Regions from separate parts of the Homo sapiens genome. Here regions 1 and 2 are each linked to region 3. The links are contacts of gene promoters, found by promoter capture Hi-C in human tissues and cell types (Jung and others, 2019). All regions are on one chromosome and are shown on one strand. The core of a region is centred on a gene start or on the middle of the fragment in contact, and the rest is flanking DNA. Distances in the headings are between cores, read along the strand shown.

The links. The method cuts DNA at HindIII sites, captures the fragments that hold promoters and counts their contacts. A contact is called where the count stands out against the background at its distance.
Region 1: a fragment that was not itself captured here is called in contact with the fragment with the promoter of SLIT2 in region 3 in 2 of the 25 tissues and cell types used here (IMR-90 fibroblasts and heart left ventricle).
Region 2: a contact is called between a fragment that was not itself captured here and the fragment with the promoter of SLIT2 in region 3, in 3 of the 25 tissues and cell types used here (mesenchymal stem cells, mesendoderm cells and thymus).

Annotation. Positions count from the first base shown.
Region 1 is chr4:19,142,828-19,146,103 of GRCh38, forward strand. No RefSeq gene overlaps it. Among named protein-coding and RNA genes, the nearest start is that of LINC02438, 310 kb to the right of the region's middle. The HindIII fragment of the contact is 8,731 bases long and covers 1-3,276 here.
Region 2 is chr4:19,174,006-19,177,320 of GRCh38, forward strand. No RefSeq gene overlaps it. Among named protein-coding and RNA genes, the nearest start is that of LINC02438, 280 kb to the right of the region's middle. The HindIII fragment of the contact is 3,662 bases long and covers 1-3,315 here.
Region 3 is chr4:20,250,390-20,253,769 of GRCh38, forward strand. SLIT2 (slit guidance ligand 2) reads left to right here and starts at 1,516. Exons shown (of 37, transcript NM_004787.4): 1 at 1,516-3,380. RefSeq lists an enhancer at 2,632-3,380. The HindIII fragment of the contact is 10,378 bases long and covers 1-3,380 here.

The sequences.
Region 1 (3,276 bases), core at 73-2,572, 1.1 Mb before region 3:
GTGGAAAGACTAGACTGGCCTAGCCCCCCAGCGTACATCTTTCTCCCTTGCTGGATGCTTCCTGCCCTCAAGCAAGAGACTCCCAGTTCTTCAGTTTTGGGACTGAGACTGGCTGTCCTTGCTCCTCAGCTTGCCGACAGCCTATTGAGGGACATTGTAATTGTGTGAGTTAATACTTAACAAGCTCCCCTTTCATATATATATATATATATATATATACACACACACACACACACACACACACACACACACATACACTTTCCTGAAAGTATACACACACATATACACATATGTGTGTGTATATATACATATATACATACATATACATTATATATTAATACATATATGATATATATTATATATAAATACATATATATTATATATTACATGTACACATATATATGCACATATATATAAATATATATACACACACATACATATATATGTACGCCCCTTTAGCTCCAGTGTGTATACATATATACACACATATATATGTGTGTGTGTGTATTATATATATATGTGTGTGTGTGTGTGTGTATATATATATATATATATATATATATATATATATATATATATATAAATTAGTTCCATCCCTCTAAAGAACCCTGACTGATACCAATTTAATTTAGTCTAAAAGTGTTGCTCTCATATAACATAAGGCAATTCAGCCACCTCAGGTATTAAAACAGTCAGTTCTTATTCATGAAAAACAGCATCCTGAAAAGAAATTATGCAGAAAGAGGGATGACAAGTTCCATGTTCCCATCCTTTCCTCTATTGGGACCCTCACCAAATATGTTCCCTTTGACAATGAGCGGCTTCAGTGCTGTGCTCTTTTGTATTTATCTGCCTTTGCTGGAGCTGCTTTCTCTACCAGGAAAACCATCTCCAGCCCTCCCATTCTCTGCCTAACTGTTAATACCTTGTCATTGTTTATGGATCAGCATTTGAACAATGTCCTGTGAGTAGAGTTTCCTGGTGATCTCCATACTCCCCGTACCTTCCTGGAATTCACTTCTGTTCCCCAGGCCACAACTCCAGGGATAAACAGTCACATAAAATCCTCCAACTGGAGTCTCTGGGAGATGGCCTGCTCTCTACTTTGTATCTCTTAAGAGCCTTTGTATCTCTCTTCATGCCTATTTCACTGTGAAGATCTGAAGGCCATGGTCTATAACAAGAAATGAAGTGTTCAGCAGTTTGTGGTAAAACAAACAAAAAAAAGTGAAAAACTGTGATTTTAAAAATAAAGTCCTACATAGGAAACGGAAAAGATGTAATGACAAACATGCCAAAAATGATTGCAACAAAAGCAAAAATTAACAAATGGGATCTAATTAATCTTAAGAGCTTCTGCACAGCAAAATAAACTATCAACAGCATAAACAGACAACCTACAAAATGAGAGAAAATTTTTACAAACTATGCATCTAGCAAAGGTCTAATATCCACATCTGTAAGGAACTTAAACAGATTTACAAGAAAAAAAACAAACAACCCCATTAAAAAGTGGGCAAAGGACATGAACAGAGAGTTTTCAAATGAAGACATACATGCGGCCAACAAGCATATGAAAAAAAGCTCAGTATCACTGATCATTGGAGAAACGCAAATCAAAACCACAATAAAATATTATCTCACACCAGTCAGAATAGCTATTACTAAGAAGTCAAAAAATAACATGCTGGCGAAGTTGCGGAGAGAAGGGAATGCTTATACACTGTTAGTAAGAGTGTAAGTAAGTTCAATCATTGTGGAAAGCAGTGTGCCAATTCCTCAAAAACCTCAAAACAGAAGTACAATTTGACCCAGCAATCCCATTACTTGATATATACCCAAAGGAATATAAATCATTCTACCATAAAGACACATGCACATGAGCATTCATTGCAGCTCAAGTCACAATAGCAAAGACATGGAATCAACCTAAATGTCCATCAATGACATATTGGATAAACAGAATATGGTACATATACACCGTGGATATTATTCAGCCATAAAGAAGAATAAGACCACGTCTTTTTGGGAACACAGATGGAGCTAATGGTCATTATCTTTAGTAAACTAATGCAGGTACAGAAAACCAAATACTGTGTGTTCTCACTTATAAGTGGGAGCTAAATGATGAGAATACATGGACACAAACATGGGAATGATAGGCACTGGGGCCTACTTGTGGGTGGGGGTTAAGAGGAGGGAGAGGATCAGAAAAAAATACCTACTGAATACTAGGCTTAGTACCTGGATGATGAAATAATATGCACAACAAATCCCCGTGACATTCGTTTACCTATATAACAAAGCTGCACATGTACCCCTGCTAAAATCAAGAACAAAAGGTAACATTAATGACAAAATAAATACTCAAAATATGAAGTTAAGATTTAAAAAGAGCAGGCTACAAAGCTATAGCTATGGGGTGATACAAATTATGTACCTGTGTAGGTATATAGATGTAAGTATAGGTACTAACGTATGTACTAATACACACACACACACACACACATTCATTCACATTTTCCCACACTGTGACTAAAAGCACATATTTGAGAACACCCTTTGTCAATAATCATAATACATCTATTTTTCATCTTTGTCAACTAGATAGGCAAAATATGTTATTTTAATGTAGATTTCAGCTATTAATAAATATTATTTGGCAAAAAGAAAATAAGATAAATATATCAATTTAAGAATCTGACTTAATCTGAAAGTATGTTTTATATATTCAGTGTTAATTTTTCCCCTAGGTTATAAAAATGCATTTGTAATTAGTTATCTTAATGTCTGGCAAAATCAAAAGCTGGCAACCAAATTTGAGTTTTCAAGTAAAATCAATATACTGCTCTATAAAATCCACAAATCTGCTATAGCATCTGTCCACGTTTATTACAAATGCTTCTTTATATCCATGGGTACTTCTGCAGATGCTGGATTTGGGAACAGTAGAGATGGTGCCTTATTCATCTGGAAACCAGGACCTGATACAGCAGATGCTTAATGAATATTCTCTGCAGAATGGTTGGAATTTGGAAAGATAACGAAAAGGTAAGTAAAGTGGTAGAAATGTTTACTTTAGTCTTCTCTTCTTCTGGGCACAATTTACAGAAATATAAAAAGGTCCTCTCTTCAAACAATGTGGTACTTGAACAACTCAGTATTTGTAAGAAGTATTTTCAGTCTCTCCGATATGCCTGTTTCTATCTATCTATATGAGTATAGGTATATGAAAAAGAAAGAGTCTATTCTATAAACTAAAACTGATTATGATTA
Region 2 (3,315 bases), core at 469-2,968, 1.1 Mb before region 3:
TGGAATTTCTACAACAAATGAATTCTATCTCAGAGTTCTGAAATAATTTAAAATTAATCTCACTGAACCAATGAAAGTACACTATTTATAAAATATGAAAAAGCGAAACAGTACAAAAATCTAAAGGGAAAAGAAAAAAAAAATAATTTTTTTTTTTTGTTCAAAGAGAAGTTGAAGGTAGTTTGCACGATATAAGATGAGAATTCCATGCCCAAATTTTGGCAAAAATGATGATAGATATTTTAAATGCTGTCTTATATTTGAATTTAAAAATTTTATGTATAAAAGTAAAATACTTGTGATTGCATTTGATGGCACTGGATGCCATTATCCCTAGCAAACTAACACGGGAACAGAAAAACAAATACCGCATGTTCTCACTTATAAGTGGGAGCTAAATCAAGAGAACACATGGACACAGAGAAGGGAACAACACACACTGGGGCCTATCAGGAGGTAGAGGGTGGGAGGAGGGAGAGTATCAGGAAAAATAACTAATGGGTATTAGGCTTCATACATAGGTGATGAAATAATCTGTACAACAAACCCCCATGACAAAAGTTTACTTAGATAACAAACCTGCATTTGTACCCCTGAACTTAAAAGTTTAAAAAAATCAAAAAATTAAAATTAAAAAATGTAGAACACAGCAAATTTGAAAAGTATACTACAATGGGAAGCAATAAATAAATAAATAAATAAAAACAAGGAAACTTCCACCTTGCAATGATAGATTTATTCAGATTTGTTATGAATTGTTTGTCCACTTATCTCCTTTGTCATCATTACTTATGTGGAGTAGATTTTTTTTCAAACCACTGACTTTAGGTTTCATATGGACTTCTTTTGGCCAAAGAAATATGATTGGTTTGAGTGTGGTGCTCAAGCCTATGCTTTTAGGAGCAGTGCAAGTTTTTGTTTTGTCAATCTTCTTGCATTGTTGGAATGCATGTTGGAATGAATCACTGGAAACACGTTGCCCTCTTGTGTTCTTGTCCTCCACCAAAGGTAACTCAAGAAGAAAGTGTTCCTTCAAAGGACATCTAAACTCAGTCTGCACACTCAAGCCAAGCTCACAGAAGACCAGCCAAGACCAGTGAAATCATGGAGGCTTTGGAATGCTTTGAGGTACAAAACTCAAGCTTTACTTAATGTGAGTGAATATTTGTTGTAAGCTAATGAAATTTTGCATTGGTTTTCATGTACATAATCTAGTAAATGCTGACAAACATATGCAACATCCCAATATCTCTTTACCCCTTCACTGAGTGAGATGGGTAGAAAAGAATTGTGAAATATTTTAATGTGTTTTTATAAAGCAATGTTATTATGTATACCTTTATTCATAGTTAGATGAATTGAGGTGATATTTAAATGTAATTTTCTAGCATAACATTTTTATTTAATATTGCCTATGATAATATTATTTTATAAAGTGCATTTGTAGTGGGTGCATACTATTCCATAATACGAAGTTTCAAGTTTATTTAATGGAAATAAGCTTAAAGGCCTACATTGTTAGACCATTACATTGTTTTCAATTATATTTTACACTGGAATGAACCTCTTTGACCTCATTCTTGTTTATGTCACAGACAAGATATGAGTTTCCCAAAATAGACTTAATTTATCAAAATAAACATGTATTTTAAGACTGCTGATGCACATAGGTTTTGTCATCTAGAAACTTTGGAGTAACTTACCCTTCCATACCCAACTTATGAAGCTTCATATTTTATTGTATTCTCATTACCATCAAATATTAAAATTTCTAAACATTTCCTAATTGCATAGGCAGAAATGACATCTTGTTTTAATTAGGGGTTAAACGCAATTTAACTATTGAACTGTAAGCATTAGAAGACAATTGCTAATCAAGAGTCAGGCAATGATTACAGTGGATAAGGTATACAACATTAATTTATTTCATGCTAACATTGTTTCCTTTTGAGAGGAGCATCATAGAGATGGTATGTAATAGATGTCTGGAGACATAATATAGTATATTAGTATTTGAGTTGTTGCAATGATTTAAGGGTCCTATAGGCATTTAGTAGGTAGAGGCCAGAAATGCCACATTGTTTTGCAGTGCATTGGATGGTCCTTCATAAAAGTGTCTCGTCTCAAATGCTAAACACAATTTCCTTGAGAATCATTAGACTATAAGATGTAAATTGGGTCAATGGCAACCTAAGTGATCTCTGCAAGATCAATGATAATGCTTTTCTCTTGGCCTTCTCTCTTTTTCTCTTTTTTCCTCTCATTCTCCAGACACACACACACATACAAACACACACACATAAACACATGCAAATACTAAATATTTAATTATAAATTCATGTAATGACTTGAATGTGTATAGCAGTAACATGTAGTTCAAATTCATCAGCAGCAAATAGAAAAGTTTGACCAATGTCCTGGCTGAAAAAACAGATTCCAAGAATGTAAAGTATCAGAATGAAGGATCAAATCCTATTTTATTGTGGACATTTACAACACTCCTTCTTCTCTTATAGAACTGAATCCATTTTAACTTGTATTGACATCGTTTGAATTAATTTTTTCACTTAGACTCTATGTGCCTTGACAGTATACCATTACTAGTCAACTCTGGAACGTGGTATATTTTAATTACTCTGTATCTATTTAACAACATAAAGAATAAGTGAATGAATATCATCACTTTGCATCTATTCTCTATATAATCCCACTCACCAAGAAAATTGATGTTGGTAAAACGTACCATTAAAAGTTTGGACAGGAAAAAAAGAAACCACCCAAGTATTTTTAACAGGAAGGAATCTAAAGCAGGAATAGTCACTTGAAAACCCATGGAAAGTGCTATGGGAGCAATAGTTAGTGAGAAATTATTAACTTCTGGAAAATTAGGACACAAGGAAATTGAGTGCAGATGTTGCCAATAATCTCAAAAATGAAGCAGGTAATTTGAAGAAGTTTACTCAGAACCTGTTGAAAACTGTACCTCTGCCCTCTGCCCACATTTCCCCTAGCTTCTACTATAGGAGAATGGTAATGACTACTCCTTTCTAGCCATGTTCTAAATCTCATATGAGTACCTCTTACAGGCAGACCCTGAGCTTTGCCCAATGAGCCAGAAAAATCGGGAAATTACGTCTTCCAAGGTTCAAGCCACTGTGATATAATGAGAATATAGCAGGGGTGAGGATGGGAGTGAGTTGCCAGTAGTCAATCTACCACACTAGACAGCATTTCCAAATTCTGGATATTTTCATTTTTCATTTTGCTCCTTGAAACATAGTAGAACTATACTATCTGTTCCATTTTTTTTCTCTT
Region 3 (3,380 bases), core at 266-2,765:
TAAAATCTAGAAGGACAAATGAGTTAATAAATGTCAAATGTTTTTGAAGGTTTTAAAAGAATAGAGCAATATAAATCTGTGGCATTAAAATGAGTAATCCTAAGAGTTCCAATTCAGTTATCAGATGGTACCCTGCCTTTGGGCGTGTCCTCGAAAAGGCTTACGTTTTCCAAGGCAGGCAAAATGAGGTAAGTAGGGGTAGCCATTATGAAAGGACATCTTAGAAAATGTTAACCAGGAAAAACGTTAATGAGGATATTGCAGAGATTTTAGGTTGAGCATACTCTTGAGTTAAAGAAATCGGTTACTTATGAGGAAACCTATTATGTGGCAGGCATAGATGCTGGAAATACAAAGAGTTGGACAGGTCTTGCTTTCAAGGAAGCTTCTAATAATTATACAAATAACTACTACAATATGAGGCTGGTATTAGGCGGGGGCTTGCACAAATTCCAGGGAAAGCTTCTTAACGTGGAAATGGGAGGAAGAACAACAATATGATGCATATTAAATCCAAGAGAAGGAGCAGAGTCATTTAGATGTCATTTCAAACTTACAGTGACATTGGCTCTTGCTGGGGGGGAAAGGGGGGCGAGAGAGGCAGCCGTTGCCAGACATACGTCACACTAAAGAGACAAGATGAAACAAGGAAATTCTCTTTCAAAACATAGCGGGGAAAAAAATATCCAGAACTGCCCTGAAATAAAGAAAACCTTCTGGTATAATGTGCGTTGCTAGGGATTTATTTTTTCCCCTCCTTTCTCTCATAAGAGAGTAAAAAATCACACAGATACGTTCAAGCCCTTAAGAGTTTTGTGAGCCTATTGAATATCCAAGACATCAACTGACCACGGTGTGGTTCAGTGTGTGTCTACAAAGGAAGGGTTAAACGGAAGGGGGTGGCTTGGAGATAGAAAGGCAAGCAAGAAGGTTGGAAAATGCTGTTTTCCAACTTGCAAAAACTGAACTTTTCAGCTCCCCAAAATACACGTGTGTGTCTGTAAGCGCAGGCAGATCTATTTCGGTAGGATTTTTCTTAAATTTAAATCATAATTTCTCTGTTTCTGTCTCTCTGTCTCTTGCTGCGCTGCAAAGAGTGAGCAGCCCCCTTAAGGATCGCGTGGCAAAAGCTGCAGGAGAGGCACTGGCAGGGCTGTTTATTTATGAGCCGCGTTCAAAGCCGACCTCTTCCCATTCTCCCACTGCAAACGACTATCTCCGAGCCCAGGTCACCTCTGGGGCCAAGGAGTTGGGGGCTGGGGCTCGGGTGGCTCCTTCTTCGGGCCAAGTTTGCCCGCGCGTGGGAGCGAGGGGGCGAGCCAGGGCGCACGGGAACGCGCGCCGCCAGCCGCCGCCTCCGCCCAGCGCTGGCAGCCCCGGCCTCACCTCTCCCCTCTCCCCAGCGAGGTGCGGGCTCCCAGAGCGGAGCCAGGGGGCGGGCCTGGGCCTCGAGGGGCGGGGTCAGGGGGCGGAGGCTCGGGCGGCTATATAAGGCCCGCGCCGGCTCAACTTCGGACTTGGTGTTATTTATTTGGGAAGCGCCCGGACGGCGGAGCTTGGCGGCGGCGGTGGTGGTGGCTGCCGCAGACTGTGGTTAAAAAAAAGAAGGCGGCGGCGGCGGCGGCGGCGGAGGCGGAGGCAGCTGCGAGGCATGGGAGCGCCGAAGCGCCCAGGCGCAGGCCGAAGCTGCCGCGCTTTCTGGGCACGGCGGGAGTGCTGAGCAGAAAGGGGAGCGCCGGGGGCCCGCAGCCGGCTCCGGAGGCGCGGGCCGGGTTTTTGTTTGGCTACGCTGAGCGCCAGTCAGCCCCAGCGAACAACTCCAGTTACGACAACAACCCACCTTCCTTCCAGACAAGCGAGACTTGGGCTGCTGCGTCCGTCCTATTGTTTAGACACTTGCCAGGGGCTCCGGAGTCGGCAGAGCCACCGAGTCCCCGCTCTGAGTCGTCGCCCTCCCTCTCCCCGACCTCGCTCCCTGGAGCGGGAGGCCAGGAAAGCAGCGGGAGAGGGGAAGGGGCTAGAAGGAGAAGGACTACCCGGGACTGCGGCCGCCGCGTCAGGTGCAGCGCCAGGAGCCGGGCGGCGTCGCCACGCCGGCAGGGGTACCGCCACTGTGGCCTTGGGGGACGGAATTCAAAGCCTGGGAAAAGTTGCTGCACTTTGAGAAGGACGAACCACTAGTGGGAGACCGCCGGGGGCCGGCCGTGGCTCTGCGCCCTCCGGAACCCGGCTCTTGTTTCTTCTACCTTTGCCATCAGGTGTCTGCCGCGGAGCTGCGGCTTATCTGGGAGACGAGCGGGGTTGACACGCGCGCACACACTACTGCCATTCAGCTGCCGCCTGGCTCTGCCTGGAGTAGTGGATCCCACCCGCCCACCTGCCACCGAGCCATTCTCCAGTACGCCCCAGCAGGACGCTGACACCTCCAACCTTGGCCTTTGCCTTTCCACTCCTTCCGGTCTGCCTGGTTTTTAAGTCCGCCCCCAGTCAGTCCCCACTCAGTCTTCGCAGCAGCTCTCATCCTCCACTTGGCCTCTTGGAGTTCCTCGCCGGAGTGCTGACTAGTGGATATTTCTGCCCGGCTGCGGCGGCCCGACTGCCCTTTTGTCTTTTCTGCGTGACCTCGGGGCAGGTCCTGGTGCAGAGCGTCGCCAAGGACGCCGAGCGGGAGGCGGGATTGCCCAGACATCCTTCAGCGAAGTGCATGTGTGTTTGTAAACCATCGTTGGCTGTCGGGAGACCGCGAGGACCGGTCCAGGCTGCGGCGGAGTCGAGGGCGAGGGAGAGGCCGCGTGAGTGAGCAGAGTCCAGAGCCGTGCGCCCCCAGAACTGCGCGTCCGCCCCGTGCACCCCCGCGCGCCATGCCCAGTTGCCCCGCGCGCTCTGCTACGGGCCCGCTGGGCTTCCGCGCCTTCTAGCTTCCGGAGCCCACTTTGATCGGGGCCATAATACCTATTGAGATCCCCTCTTCTGTCTTGTACCTTCGCCACTGGCATCGGATTTGCAGAAGCGTGCGTGGGATCAGAGGACCGCCCTCCCCACAACAACCGGCCCCTGCATCTTAGCAGCCGTTGGAAGCCCCAGCTCTTTTACCGCCAAGTTCATCCTTGGGAGACAGAAGACGCGTGATCTCCTCTCCGCTGCTCTTGGGGTCTCCTTGCAGCCCTGGCCAGGCGGATTCATCCTCAGGACCTAAAGTTGCCCAAGGAGCTCCTGCTCTGCCAGAGGAGGGTGGAGAGGGCGGTGGGAGGCGTGTGCCTGAGTGGGCTCTACTGCCTTGTTCCATATTATTTGGTGCACATTTTCCCTGGCACTCTGGGTTGCTAGCCCCGCCGGGCACTGGGCCTCAGACACTGCGCGGTTCCCTCGGAGCAGCAAGC